Regions from separate parts of the Homo sapiens genome. Here regions 1, 2, 3 and 4 are each linked to region 5. The links are contacts of gene promoters, found by promoter capture Hi-C in blood cells and fetal thymus (Javierre and others, 2016). All regions are on one chromosome and are shown on one strand. Each heading gives the region's core, a stretch centred on a gene start or on the middle of the fragment in contact. The rest is flanking DNA. Distances are from core to core; before and after follow the strand shown. Region 1 overlaps TRAF3 (TNF receptor associated factor 3). Region 2 has its middle 1.4 kb from the start of EXOC3L4. Region 3 overlaps TRAF3 (TNF receptor associated factor 3). Region 4 holds the start of ZNF839 (zinc finger protein 839). Region 5 holds the start of RCOR1 (REST corepressor 1).

Region 1 (2,700 bases), core at 43-2,542, 280 kb before region 5:
AGCGGAAGGCCTGTGGAACGGATTATCTACGAGATGAGCGGAAGGCCTGTGGAACGGATTATCTATGAGTTGAGGGAAGGCCTGTGGAACAGATTATCTATGAATCGAGCACAAGGTCTGTGGAACGGATTATCTATGAATTGAGCCTAAGGCCTGTGGAACGGATTATCTATGAATTGAGTGGAAGGCCTGTGGAATGGATTATCTATGAGTTGAGGGAAGGCCTGTGGAACGGATTATCTATGAATTGAGCGGAAGGACTGTGGAACAGATTATCTATGAGTTGAGGGAAGGCCTGTGGAACGGATTATCTACGAACTGAGCAGAAGTCCTGTGGAACGGATTATCTATGAACTGAGCGGAAGGCCTGTGGAATGGATTATCTACGAATTGAGCGGAAGGCTTGTGGAACGGATTATCTGTGAGCTGAGCGGAAGGCCTGTGGAACGGATTATCTATGAGTTGAGGGAAGGCCTGTGGAACGGATTATCTATGAATTGAGCGGAAGGCCTGTGGAACGGAATATCTATGAACTGAGTGGAAGGCCTGTGGAACGGATTATCTATGAGTTGAGGGAAGGCCTGTGGAACGGATTATCTACGAATTGAGCGGAAGGCCTGTGGAATGTATCATATAGGAATTGAGTGGAAGGCCTGTGGAATGGGAGGACCCGCACCTGCAGCGCGATCATCGGAACCTGACTCTTGCAGTGGCTGCATGTGGCTTCCCGGTATTTACACGCCTTCTCCACGTGGTCTCGCAGGTCTTTCCTCAAGACCTTTTCTTTGCAGTCAGGACGCACACATGGAAGTTCTTCAAAATGGCAATCATTTTTTAAATGCACCTGTAAGACAGACCATTCAATGTTCTTAATTGGGAAAAAAACCCTAAATCTGAAATACCAGATTCTAATCTCTATGCAATGAAACCCTAAAGAAATGTTTCTCATCTGCTGTTAGACCAGTTTTCCACAGCAAAGAGTAACAAGTATGCCAAGAGACACTGAATTTCATATTCTATTTCATGATTACTCAAACCATATTGTTGTTGAAGAATTAAGTCAACTCTGCTTCCAGGATAAATGAATATCTGCTAAGAACTTTGTTTTATTCCAGTTCAAATAATTTTCTAAGCTAAAATATGGTACTAACTAAAAAAATAAGAAGTTATGTAGAATTTCATGGTGAAAAAAGGTTTTAATGGGCCTTCCAAAATTAAAATCCAATTCAGATTTTCTCTATTCTAAGTAGGGGGGGGAGTGTTTAAAAACCAGTTGACAATTCTGCCAATGATGTCATAAAAATAACAACTTATACTCAAGTGGTTCTGACTGCTTTCCTATTTGGCTGTGTTTTGAAAAACTAATGTCAACATGGTCTTAAAGTGCCACATCCTACTGACCACTTCATCAGCTGGATGTAAGGGACTCGAATTCCTTCATGTAAAAGGTTCCAGTGTCCCTTTGCTACTCACCAGCAGATGTCCCAGCATTAACTGCTCTGCACAACCTCTGCTTTCATTCCGACAATAGATCTGAAGAGCCAGAATTTCTCTCTTGCAGCAATTATCCTTAAACACCTGAAAATGAAAGATCATTATTTTGGAGGATTAATATTTCTTAATCTCCACATGCTGCTACTTTGGACAAGGCAAAACCACTTAAAAAAAAAAAACAAGAGAGGAACTCTTAAGTGAACTTCAGAAAGCATTAAGGACCATCTTGATTTCTAGAAGTAGAATGAAGAAGCTGCCCCCACTAAGAGACACAATTTAAATAACATTAACTGTTATCTTTTATTAGTTAAGCCAAAAGAAAATGAATTAGACTTGATAATTAACGATCACTCTGGAGCATCTAAACATCTTCTATTAACTTTGACATAATTTCAGGATGAGGGCAGAGGAGGACCAGGTTCACATTCAGACTCTGGGGCCTTCCGGGAGCCAGCACGGAGCAGGTGGCCATTATGGTGCAGCTGTCACCAGAGGACAAGAGCAGAACTGGACACAACTGAATACATTGTATAGATCGCTTGCTGGAGAAATGGAGAGACCACATAAGAGACCATATTTGGGGAATGATTTGTAAAACTGTTGGTTCCTTCTAAAGGTCATGCTGTTAAAACTCATTTTTCACCAAAAAAAGCAGCATTAGCCTGTGGTTGAAAAACACTCTCTTTAAACATATATTGCAGTCTGAAGTTAGTCTAATAATGAAAAGATTTCCCTTTGAAAATGAAAACGAGGCTGGGCGTGGTAGCTGAAGCCTAAAATCCCAGCACTTTGGGAAACCGAGGCAGGAGGATTGCTTGAGTCCAGGAGTTTGAGACCAGCCTAGGCAACACAATGAGACCCTATCTCTACAAAAATTTTTTTAAAAAATTAGCTGGGCAAGGCAGCATATGCGCCTGCAGTCTCAGCTACTCAGGAGGCTGAGGCAAGAGGACTGCTTTAGCCTGGCAGGTAGAGGATGCAGTGAGCCATGATCGCACTGCTGCACTCCAGACTGGGCGACAGTGGGAGACCCCCATTTCTTTAAAAAAAAAAAAAAGAAGAAGAAAAAACCTTTCAACTTTTAATTTTATTTTTCCCTTAGAAAACACAAGTATTCTCATTCTCACTCTTTTTTTAAGAGACAGGGTTGACTGGGAACAGTGACTCACCTCTGTAATCCCAGCACTTTGGGAGGCCGAGGTGGGT
Region 2 (2,700 bases), core at 62-2,561, 500 kb before region 5:
CTTCCCAGCCATGGTCAGCGCCTGCCAGGCCCACCCGGCCCCACCCACAGCCCTACCCTCCACCAGGACCCCATACTTTCACTTTCAGAGAAGTTCCCACTTCCTTTTCGTTCCGGAGGCAGTCACTCCAGCTTTCCATTCCAGACAGCTCAGGGCTCAGTCCAAGGGTCAGAGAACAAGGGAGGGGAAGGCTGCGGAGCTCGGCACTCAGGGTCTCGAGGCAGCAGGGGGTGGACGCTGCCTGCCACCCAAAACACCACCAACCTCTCCTTTGCTCAGAGGCCAGCGGAAGCAGGCGCTGGCCTCGGGGGACACTCAGCCCACAGTGCCGGAGCCCAGAAGGACCCCTCCCTCCAGGACAGAGGCTCTAGCACTGGGCCAGTCCATCGAGTTCATCCCGAGACCCCTGCACCCTGCCTGTCAGGGAAGCTCACGGTGACAGCAAAGGCAGCAGTTGAGAGCCACATGCCATTCCTGGGGGCTTCAGGAGCTAGAGAAAGGGATGGGGCCCTAGGGACAGACAGGACACACTCAGAAGTGAGAAGGGACGGCATCCTGGGCAGGGGCAAAGATGTGGAGGCGGGGCCCCACTCCCCACACCAGGGGGTCAGGCGGGCAACGTGCCGCAGGGAGGGCCACTGACACTTCCCAGAAGAGGCAGCCTCACCCCTGCATAGGGGGATTCCGCAGCGAGCGTCTTAGGAAACAACTCAGGGAAAATCCAAGGAGAACGGATCCAGGCCTGTCCCAACCTGGGCTGGGGCCACCAGGGTGTGTGATGGGGCTGCTGCAGGGTGCTGAGGTGGGCAGAAATAGCCTCCTGCACCAGCATCCTCTGGCTGAGGGCAGAGGTGGCCCCGTGCAGCAGCATCCTAGGACTGAGGGCAGGGAAGGCCCCATGCACCCAGTGTCCTAGGGCTGAGGGCAGAGACAGGCCGGTGCACCAGCATCCTAGGACTGAGGGCAGGGACGGCCCCATGCACCCACTGTCCTAGGGCTGAGGGCAGAGACAGGCCAGTGCACCAGCATCCTAGGGCTGAGGGCAGGGACGGCCCCATGCATCCAGTGTCCTAGGGCTGCCACGACAGGACCAGGGACTGAGCCTCAACAACAGACGTTTATTCTCTCCCAGTTCTGGAAGCCAGAGGCCCACAGTCAAGGCATGTGTGGGGCTGGTTTCTCCTGGGGCTGTTTTCTGGGTCTGTGGGTAGCGCCCCCCCTTCTTCCTGGGTCAACACAGGGCCTTCCCACTTCGTGTCTGTGTCCATATTTCCTCTTCATATGGGTTGGGGTCCACCCGAATGACTTAATTTTAACTTATTACCTCTTTAAAGGTCACGTGTTTTTATAAGGAATTTTCCAAATAAGGTCACATTCTAAGATTGGGACTTCAACATACGAATTTTTTTTTTTTTTGGAGACGGAGTCTCTCTCTGTCACCCAGGCTGAAGTACAGTGGCGCGATCTCAGCTCACTGCAACCTCTGCCTCCTGGATTCAAGTGATTCTCCTGGATTCAAGTGATTCTCCTGCCTCAGCCTCCTGAGTAGCTGTGATTACAGGCACGCACCACCACACCCGGCTAATTTTTGTATTTTTAGTAGAGTCGGGGTTTCACCATGTTGGCCAGGCTGGTCTTGAACTCCTGACCTCAGGTGATTGGACTGCCTAGGCCTCCCAAAGTGCTGGGATTACAGGCGTGAGCCACCGCGCCCAGCCCAACATACGAATTTTATGGGGGAAAAGCAGCCCATAACAGACTGGAAGGTGCCTGAGATGCTGCAGCACCATCTGCAGAGGGGCCAAATTAGACTCAAAGATGCCAGCACCTCCTCCAGGAAGCCCTCCAATTAACCACTTGAGTCACTACCCTGAGCCCTGGGTTCCCTCTGTGAAGTGGGGTGCTAAGAGTCCCACTTCAAGCCCGAGAGGTGCCCAGCAGCCCATAGGCCCTTCCTCCCAGCCCAGTCCCACCTGCTGGCCTGAGTCCCACCCCACCTGTCTCCAACAGGCAGAGATGAGGGGTAACAGGGAATAAGCAAAACTGAGCAGAGACAGCCGGGGTCCAAGGTGGCTGGCTCCCCAGGGCTCAGTGACCTGCTCTCGGCCACACAGGTGCCCAGAGAGGCCAGGACTGCGACCTAGGTCTCTGGCTCTGTGGACTGGGTCTTCCCATACAGCCAGGCCTTGGTGGACTGGAGACTTCCCGGTCTAATTCTCCCACCCGCCCCCCAGCTCCCAGGGCATGTTGGGGTCCTGGGACCTCCAATTATGGGTCGCTCCATTCAATACACAGGTGCCTGAAAAGCTGGTGGTGCCCAGGGCCTGGGGACTGCTCCTGGAAGTCCCCTCAACTCCCATCTGCTCTCCACAGGCACCTGAGCCTGTGCCCGCTTTTCAGCATGAGGTTGCAATGTTTCTTTCATGCTATGTCCATGTTTTCCCGAAGTTTCTCAGTAAAATCCCTTTGGAAAAACCCCAGCCTTATCTCAAAGAAGCCTGGGTCACGAGGTTGGTCTGGGGTCAGGAGAAGGCCGGGTGGGGAGCCGTTAGGAGGGAGAGGCCTAGCCAGGGACACCCACCAGAGGGCAAGCCCAGCTCCCCACGACCTTGGAGAGGCACCTCAATCTCTGAGCCCCAGTTTACTCCTCCAGAAAATGGGATTGTCGTCGGGATCAAATGGGTTCACCTTGGCTGAGGA
Region 3 (2,700 bases), core at 126-2,625, 260 kb before region 5:
TGGTAGTTACCAGTGGTTGAAAGGAGGCATAATGGGGACTCACTGCTTATGGGTATGGGGTTTCCTTTTGGGAACGAAAAAAATGTGTTGGAACCAGATAGAGATCATGGTGCAGAACACTGTGAATGTACAAAATGCCACTGAATCATTCACTTTTAAATGGCTAATGTTATGTGTATCTCACCACAATTTATTTTAAAACATTGTTAAAAAAAAAAAAAAAAAAACAGCCAGGTGCGGCAGCTGACACCTATAATCCCAGCACTTTGAAAGGCTGAGGTGGGCAGATCACTTGAAGCCAGTAGTTCAAGACATGCCTGGGCAACACAGTAAAAAACCCCATCTCTACAAAAAAATACAAAAAATAGCTGGGTGTGGTGGTGCACACCTGTAGTCCCAGCTATCTGGGGGGCTGAGGTGGGAATCACTTGAGCCCAGGAGGTGAGGCTGCAGTGAGCCATGTTTGCACTACTGCACTGCAGCCTGGGCAACACAAAAGTAAGACTCTGTCTCAAAACCAAAACCAAAACCTACTATAACCACTTAGTCACTTGGATGGCTAAAATTTTAAAAACAGAAAATCACAAGTGTTAGCAAGGATATGGAGAAATGGGAATCTTCACATATTGTTGACAGGAATGTAAAATGGTGCAGCCCTTGTGGAAACAATCTGGCAGTTCCTCCAAAAGTTAAACACAGAATTACCGTATGACCCAACAATTCCATCTCTATGTATATACCAAGAGAACCAGTCTGTTCACGCAAAAACTTGTTCACAAACGTTCACAGCAGCACTATTCACAATAGCGAAAAAAAAAGTAGAAACAGCTCAAATGGTCAACTGGTAAATGGATAAACAAAATGTGGTCTATTCATACAATGAACTCTTACTTAGGCATAAAAAAAAATGAGGTACTATATATGCTACAACATGGATGGACCCTGAAAACATTATGTAAGTTATAGAAGTCAGAAACAAAAGGCCACATATTGTATGATTCCTATTACATGAAATGTCCAGAATAGGCAAATTCATAGATACAGAAAGTAGATTAGTGGTTGCCAGAGGCTGGGGCAAGCGAAGAATGGAGAGTGCCTGCTTAGTGGTATGGGGTTTCTTTTTGGGGTGATGAAATATTCTGAAATTAGATAGTAGTGATGGTTGCATAACATTCTTTTTTTTTTTTTTTTAGACGGAGTCTTGCCTCTGTCGCCCAGGCTAGAGTACAGTGCCGCAATCTCGGCTCACTGCAACCTCCGCCTCCCGGGCCCAAGCAATTCTGCTGCCTCAGCCTCCCAATTGCCTGAGGTTACAGGAGTGTGCCACCATGCCCAGCTAATTTTTTTGTATTTTTAGTAGAGATGGGGGTTTCACCATGTTGGCGAGGCTGGTCTCGAACTCTTGACCTCAGGTGATCTGCCCGCCTCGGCCTCCTAAAGTGCTGGGATTACAGGCATGAGCCACCACGCCCGGCCGTAACATTCTGAATATACACAAAGCCACTGAGTTGTACACTTTAAGTGGTTTAAGTGGTGAATTTTGTTTTGTAAATTTTATCTCAATTAGAAAGTGTTTACAATTTTTTTCGTGGGGTAAAAAACGGTGGTGGGGGGAACATCCAGATTCCTGAATCCCGCACAGCCTGGTAGCCACTCCTTACCACCACCACGAACATAAAAAAATGGCTAGCAGGCAGGACGTGGTAGCTCACACCTGTAATCCCAGCACTTTGGGAGGTCAAGGCAAGAGGACTGCTTGAAGTACCAGGAGTTTGAGATCAGCCTTGGCAACACAGCAAAACTCAGTCAGCCTCTAAAAAAAAATAAAGGCCAGGTGCAATGGCTCACACCTGTAATCCCAGCACTTTAGGAGGCAAGGCAGGAGGATCGTCTGAGGTCAGGAGTTCAAGACCAGCCTGGCCAACATGGCAAAACCCTGTCTCTACTAAAAATACAAAAATTAGCCGGACGTGGTGGTGTGAGCCTGCAGTCCCAGCTACTCAGGAGGCTGAGGCAGGAGAATATGAGAATCGTTTGAACCCAGGAGGTGGAGGTTGCAGTAAGCCGAGATTGTGCCGCTGCACTCCAGCCTGGGCGACAGAGTGAGACTCTGTCTCAAAAAAATAATAATAAAAATAAAATATAAAAATAAAATAAAAATTAGCCTGGCATGGTGACACATGCCTGTGAGTCCTAGCTACTCAAGAGGCTGAGGCGGGAGAACTGCTTAAGCCCAGGAGCTCAAGGTTACAGTGAACTACGATCACGCCACTGCACTCCAGCCTGGGTGACAGGGCAAGATTCTGTCTCTAAAAAAAACAAACTGTTTTTAATTTTTTTTAAACAGCTAGCACACTGAACCTTATGTGACACAATTCTGTTTGTCCATATGTAGATCCAAAGAATTTCATGTCATCCTAAGTATCTCAATAGGAAAATTAAAAGGAGAAGTAAAGATATTAGAAGTCAATGAAAAACTAAGTTTCAGGGGATAATGTTTTAAATTACATGCAGAGAATTAAGGAGAAATAAGTGGCCAAGAGGACAACTGCAGCCTCACACACGGACCACACTGACTGATGGTGAGGACAGCAAGCAGGCCGCACTGGAGTCGGTCATGTCTCGTTCCCAGGCTGGAACAACAACACCTACAAGTACAGCTCCAAAAGCAAAGACCAAGTTCAAAGGCCCCAAACTAAA
Region 4 (2,700 bases), core at 118-2,617, 270 kb after region 5:
GGACAGAATCACACTGGTCTTCCTAAACCTTAGCAAGACAACTCTCCAGTCTTGATGATTAACTGGATACAACCCTAAGCAGCTAACATCAGTCAAAAAAACTCAACGAGTGAAGGTTCCTGATTCTATTCCCTAACCCGTTTCTTCTAGTGGAAAAAGCTGTCTTCTTTTGGCAATTTTGGGGTGAGACTAATTTTGTTTACAACCCCAGCGCTGAAATGGGGTGGAATTTTACAGATGCCGTGTAGGCCCTCTGGCTTCAGGCGCTATGCTTCACCCTCCGGAGTTGGGCGACCGTCTTCTAGTTATCACCCCCCTAGCAACCAAAAGGTGTGTGGCCCAGGAAATAAACCCACTGGGAAAGGATGTTTTGTAGTATACAGAGTGCTTTCACATATTCCAAACATTGTGTATCAGGCACTGTGCTGGGTACTGCGGTTACAAATCAGTCACTATCACCCAGGATGTTAAGTCCTGCAGCGAACTAGTGTATTGTGCTTGACTTTGTTCCAAGCCTGGGCCTTGGCACCTTACAACTGAAAAGCTAAGTTGGTTCCTTTTAATTCATTTATGTTTCAGCTCCAGTGTCTGGCCTACGGGACCACCCACTCTAAAGCAGCCCCCGTCAATCCCAGAACCTGCCTTATGTTCGTTCTTCAGCAAGTGTGTTCAAGGCTTCACCTCCTGCACATAGTGGGGAGTGCTGGGAACACGGTCTCTAAGTGCTCCACAAAGGCTGAACCAGCGGTGAAAGGCCTGTAAGAAGAGCTAGGGAGCACGCAAAAGCCCCCAGCAGGGCTGTGAAGGCAGAGAAGGCACGAGGGCGTTCCAGGCACAGGGCCCAGCGTGAGCAACCGCTCCTAGAGTGAGGCTCCTGGGGTGAAAATGCCAGGGTGGTGACAGGTGGGGGCCGAACGCCGTCCCTAAGAAGCTCAGCCTGGGGACGCCCTGAGTCTTAACCCGGGCGGATACTGGCCTCCCCGGACAAGCAGCTACCCCGCCGCGGGGCGTCGGCCCCCTTCGGGCCTCAGTTTCCCCACGTCCCTCCCGACGCCTCACCTGGGGCGGGAGCAGGCGCGGCAGGCGCGGGGGCTCGGTGCCCCGGCCCCGCTGCAGGGCGGCCTGTTGGGCCGCGTCCCGCAGCCGCCGCGCCGCGTCCCGCAGCACGAAGGGGGGCGGCGGCGGCGGCGGCTGCGCCTTCGTCACCTGCTCCAGGACCTGCCGCAGCTGCTCGGGGCCCAGCGGGGCCACACGTGCGACGCTGCCGCTCTGGCCCGGAGGAGCCGGGCCGCCGCCGCCGCCGCCATCCTCGCTGCCGCCCCCAGCCTCCGGCTCCGCATCCGCCATGGCGGCCGAGGCGGGGACTCGAACCCGGGTCGCTGAGCGACGGCGTCTCCAATGTACGTCACCTAGGAGAGGGGCGGGCTACGAGTGCCTCGCAGGCCAAGACACCTAGGAAGGCGACCGTGTCTGGCCGGGAAAGTCGTGGAGTGCCCCGCCCCAGCCGACAACCGCCGCGGCTCTTAGGGCTGATCAGCAGAGCGGACCCCCCTTATTTTCCTTATTGCCTGTCACGGATGTGTTTAAGACTCACCTTCTCTGGGAGCTGTCCCGGATCTCCCAGGGGGAGGTCTTCGGGGTTTCAGAGCCCCTGGCCCAAAAGTTACCACAATATCCAAGTGTTCTGACGTCATCATGCATCCGAATCAGCGGAGGATGCTGTCTGGAGATGCAGAGTACTGTGCCCACCCCTAAACATTTGGATTTATACATCTGGGAGGGGACCACAGTTTGAATTGTTAACGAGAGTGTTTCCCAAATTTTTGCCTTGTCACCGTAGCTTCTCTCTACCCACCCACCCAGATTGGGTGCACCTTGAAGGGAGAGATGATATATTACACAATCGGTGCCCAGCACAGGCCCTGCCCAGAACACAACGCACGCTCAGGGCATGAATGATGGATGGATGAATATGAATAAACGAATGAGTGAACGAATGAATGAACCCACCCTCTCTCTATCCATCCAGCTCCACTGCCCCATCTTCCTCAGCCTGATCGCCTCTCCTTCTTACGGTTGAGGCTCTGTGCGCCCTCCGAATCTTGTAGCTGCAGGTGTGTACACATGTCCCAGCTCCTTTCCCCAGGGAGAGCAGGAGGTCCACTGGTCCACAAACCCTTCTTAAGCACCTGGTGGGTGAACCGCTGTTTCCGCCCTGGGGGGTATACAGTCTAGGTGCCGACCCCCAAGGAGGAAACTTCCCAAGGGGGAAGGAGGAAACTGGCATTTGCAGCACAGTATGATGAGCGCCGAAGCCGGTAAAGTAAGGCTGGCGGCCTGGGTGGCGTCAGAGAAGGTTCTGGAAGATCACCACCATCCTCATCAATACTCACATTGCATTCACGATGATCCCTTCCGTGTTATTTTTTAATGGTGAATTTTATATTATGGGTATCTTACCACAATTTTTTTTTTTTTTTGAGACAAGATCTCACTCTGTCACCCAGGCTGGAGTGCAGTGGCACAATCTCAGCTCACCGCAACCTCCATCGCCTGGGTTCATGCGGTTCTCCTGCCTCAGCCTCTTGAGTAGCTGGGATTACAGGCGTCCGCCACCATGCCTGGCTAATTTTTGTATTTTTAGTAGAGACGGGGTTTCATCATGTTGGTAAGGCTGGTCTTGAAACCCTGACCTTAGGT
Region 5 (2,700 bases), core at 1-2,500:
AGGCAGGCGCCCTCTGGAAAACACACTTCTTTTATTGACTGGTTTTGGGGGGTCGTTCTTCTACTCGCCTTCTGGATGGGAGGGCAGTCAGGAGCCAGCAAGAGCCCAGAGGCTGAGAGGAGGAGCAAAGGCGTGGGGAGCAGCCTTTGGGAAGGGTTCCGAGAAAGGGGTCTCTGGGGACCTCCTAAGTCCGGGGCGCTCGCAGGACACTAACTCTCCGGCACTGCCACCCTTACCCCTGGCCGAGGCGCAGCTCACCTGGACGCAGGGACCCCCAGCGCCCCCAGGCCAGGTGTGGCCACCTCCGACGCCACCCGCAGTCCTCGGAGGCGCAAGGGGGCAGCGGCGCCGGCCCTGCTGGGGGCGACCTGGCCTCCCCCGGGTGCAGAGGCACGTTTGCAGAACACTCGTGTGCGTGTGCGCCTCCTCGTCCTCGCCCTGCTGTTCTCCCCACGGACGGCAGGGCGAACGCACAAAAAGAAAGTTGTCGGCGGGCTCCCGCCCCCTCGGGCTCGCCGGGGACCCGGGGCTCCCGCTCATCCCCGCCGCCGGCCGGCCGGGGCCGCTACTCACCGGGGTCGAAGTCGGGCACCACCGCCTGGTACTGGGGTCCGACCCTCATGCCACCGCCACCTGCGGGGGAAGCAGAATACGGCGGTCAGCGCGGCGCGGGGCGCGGGGCCCGGGGCCGCGGGGGCGGCTGCCACCTACCGTGCTCCTCGTCGCTGGACGAGCCCGAGCTGCCTTCCTCCCAGGAGTTGCTGCTGCTGTTGCCATTGGGCGCCGCCGCCGCCAAACTTTTATTCTGGCCATTATTGGGGGCGGCGGCGGCTGAGGCGGCGGCGGCCGAGGCTGAGGAGGCGGCGGCGCCCGAGGCGGCAGTGGCGGCTGGCGAGGCGCAGGCGGCCGAGGCGGCGGCGGAGGCGGCGGCGGCGGAGGCGGAGGCGGCCGCGTTGTTCCTCCCTCTCCGCTTCCCTGAGACCTCGGGGCCCTTCTCCACCATGGCCGGCATCGGCGGGGGCCGGGGCCGTGCGAAAGTGGCGGGGACCCGCGGCTCCTGAGGAGGGGGCGCCGAGACGGGGGAGGGGGCGCGGGGCCGGCGCGGGGCCGGGCGGGCGCGGCGGGAGCCCACGGGCGCGAGTCCGAGTCGGGGGAGGCCCAAACGGGCAGAGCGCGGAGCCGCTTCAAGCCCCCAGCGACGAGCCGAGCGCAACTTTCGCTCTCATCGCCGCCCTCACTTCACTGGCACCAACTACTCCGGGAGCAGCGAGCGGAGAGGGGAGGAGGCAGGGGCGGGGCCTGCAGGGGCGCCGGGGGAGGGGGGCGCGCAGCCCAACTGACGCGAGATGGCTCCGCCCCCCCTCGCGCTCCCATTGGCTCTGGTGGGATTTGGACAGCCAGCGGCAGCGGGGTTGGCTCCGCGCGCCCGTCCGTCCGGGGCGGCGGGGCGGGGGAGCGGGGAGGGGCGGCTCCGGGCTTCCGTTGGCGAGGTTCGGTTGACGCGTATCGCCCGCCGTACGTGGTTTGAGGTTTGCCATCTCCCTACGCCCCATGATCCATCTCTCCAGGCAGCGGCGAGGAGTTCGCGGCCCTCCCCGCCCCCTACCCTTGGCCGCGGCCCCTGCCCTTGCTGCCCGCGCACGCCTCCCGCAGCCTCTGGCCCCCCATCTGAAGGACCCCGCTGAGAGTCCCGTCGACTTCTCAAAGTAAAATGTGTCTGGCGCTGGGAAGCCGCGGAGCGCCCGGCCGGGACTACTTTCCGCTGCGCGGAGGAGTACGGGCGCGCTAAGACTCCATACAAAGAGGAAACTAATTGGGGGAAACTCGCTGCGCCCCCGCCTTTCCCAGGGGACGCGGGGCTGGCGGGGGCGGGGGCCGCGGCGCGGGGGACGGGCTTCCCAGGCGGCCGCCTCCCCTGGCGCGAGCTGCGTGGGGACTCGGGTCTGCGGTGCTGCCCGCTAATTGGGTGGGGGAGGCCGGGGCCCCCGGGGTGGCTTGGGTGCGGGGTGCGCCGCGGCTTCAGAGGCCCAAGGGAGGGTCCCCGTGGGTCCCCGGGGCACAGAGTCCCGGCGTGGGGACGCCCAAGCCGCCTGGGTGGCCGCTGAAAGATGAATGAAGGGGCCCAGTCGTCCTGGGGCGGGGGTCCAGGAAGGGTAAAGAGGAAGAAGCTATTTTCATCCCAAGCTCTCGGCACGGGAGGAGGGTCAACTTCTTTCGGGGCGAGGGCAGCCACTTTTCCGGACCTGCCGCCCGCCCCGCCTCCCTACTCCCCCCGGCACCCCCACGAGGGAGAACACGGGGTGCGGGCGGGTGGGGTAGGCTGAGGCTAGCCTGAGAGCCGCTGCCTTGGAGAGGGACCACCGGGCAGCCGTACAGCTGTTAGGAGGCTGAGGAGTGTAACTGCCTTGGAGGTCCCGGTGCCCTACCCCCAGCCAACCCTGAAACTACGCGCCCTTCGTAATTAGACCAGTGGAGGTCTATACGGAAAATCTTTTTAAAGCAGGGAAGGCTATTTTTCTTTTAAGTTACTTCAAACCTGAGCTTAATTTGGGGACTAGCTCTGGATATAAATAGCTACAGGGAGAATTTGGGAGTTTTATGGTTTTAAAGCCTGAGTAAATAAGCAGGGTTTTGTCTTGAACATTTTCTGCAGCATGAACCATTATTAACTTTATTGAAGAGACCACGTTCACTTCTGCC

What was found. Contacts are between HindIII fragments. The CHiCAGO score rates a contact against its expected background, and 5 or more counts as called.
Region 1: a contact is called between a fragment that was not itself captured here and the fragment with the promoter of RCOR1 in region 5, in 2 of 17 cell types (endothelial precursors and M0 macrophages). The highest score is 6.1, in endothelial precursors.
Region 2: a contact is called between a fragment that was not itself captured here and the fragment with the promoter of RCOR1 in region 5, in 1 of 17 cell types (total B cells). The highest score is 5.1, in total B cells.
Region 3: a contact is called between a fragment that was not itself captured here and the fragment with the promoter of RCOR1 in region 5, in 1 of 17 cell types (endothelial precursors). The highest score is 5.2, in endothelial precursors.
Region 4: a contact is called between the fragment with the promoter of ZNF839 here and the fragment with the promoter of RCOR1 in region 5, in 9 of 17 cell types (neutrophils, naive CD8 T cells, fetal thymus and 6 more). The highest score is 8.8, in neutrophils.

The regions. Positions count from the first base shown.
Region 1 is chr14:102,874,502-102,877,201 of GRCh38, reverse strand. TRAF3 (TNF receptor associated factor 3) reads right to left here. Exons shown (of 12, transcript NM_145725.3): 5 at 1,474-1,578; 6 at 677-844. Among named protein-coding and RNA genes, the nearest start is that of AMN, 47 kb to the left of the region's middle. The HindIII fragment of the contact is 4,234 bases long and covers 1-2,700 here.
Region 2 is chr14:103,092,013-103,094,712 of GRCh38, reverse strand. It overlaps a transcript of EXOC3L4 not described here. Among named protein-coding and RNA genes, the nearest start is that of EXOC3L4, 1.4 kb to the left of the region's middle. RefSeq lists enhancers at 550-1,119, 2,593-2,700. The HindIII fragment of the contact is 5,265 bases long and covers 1-2,700 here.
Region 3 is chr14:102,852,329-102,855,028 of GRCh38, reverse strand. All of the region lies in intron 2 of TRAF3 (TNF receptor associated factor 3), which reads right to left. Among named protein-coding and RNA genes, the nearest start is that of AMN, 69 kb to the left of the region's middle. The HindIII fragment of the contact is 7,690 bases long and covers 1-2,700 here.
Region 4 is chr14:102,318,413-102,321,112 of GRCh38, reverse strand. ZNF839 (zinc finger protein 839) reads right to left here and starts at 1,367. Exons shown (of 8, transcript NM_018335.6): 1 at 1,060-1,367. The coding sequence starts at 1,347. RefSeq lists an enhancer at 748-857 and silencers at 958-1,147, 1,208-1,307. The HindIII fragment of the contact is 5,518 bases long and covers 1-2,700 here.
Region 5 is chr14:102,591,199-102,593,898 of GRCh38, reverse strand. It overlaps RCOR1 (REST corepressor 1), which reads right to left and starts at 1,250. Exons shown (of 12, transcript NM_015156.4): 1 at 712-1,250; 2 at 574-633. The coding sequence starts at 1,012. RefSeq lists silencers at 274-883, 944-2,253 and an enhancer at 1,832-2,647. The HindIII fragment of the contact is 8,428 bases long and covers 1-2,700 here.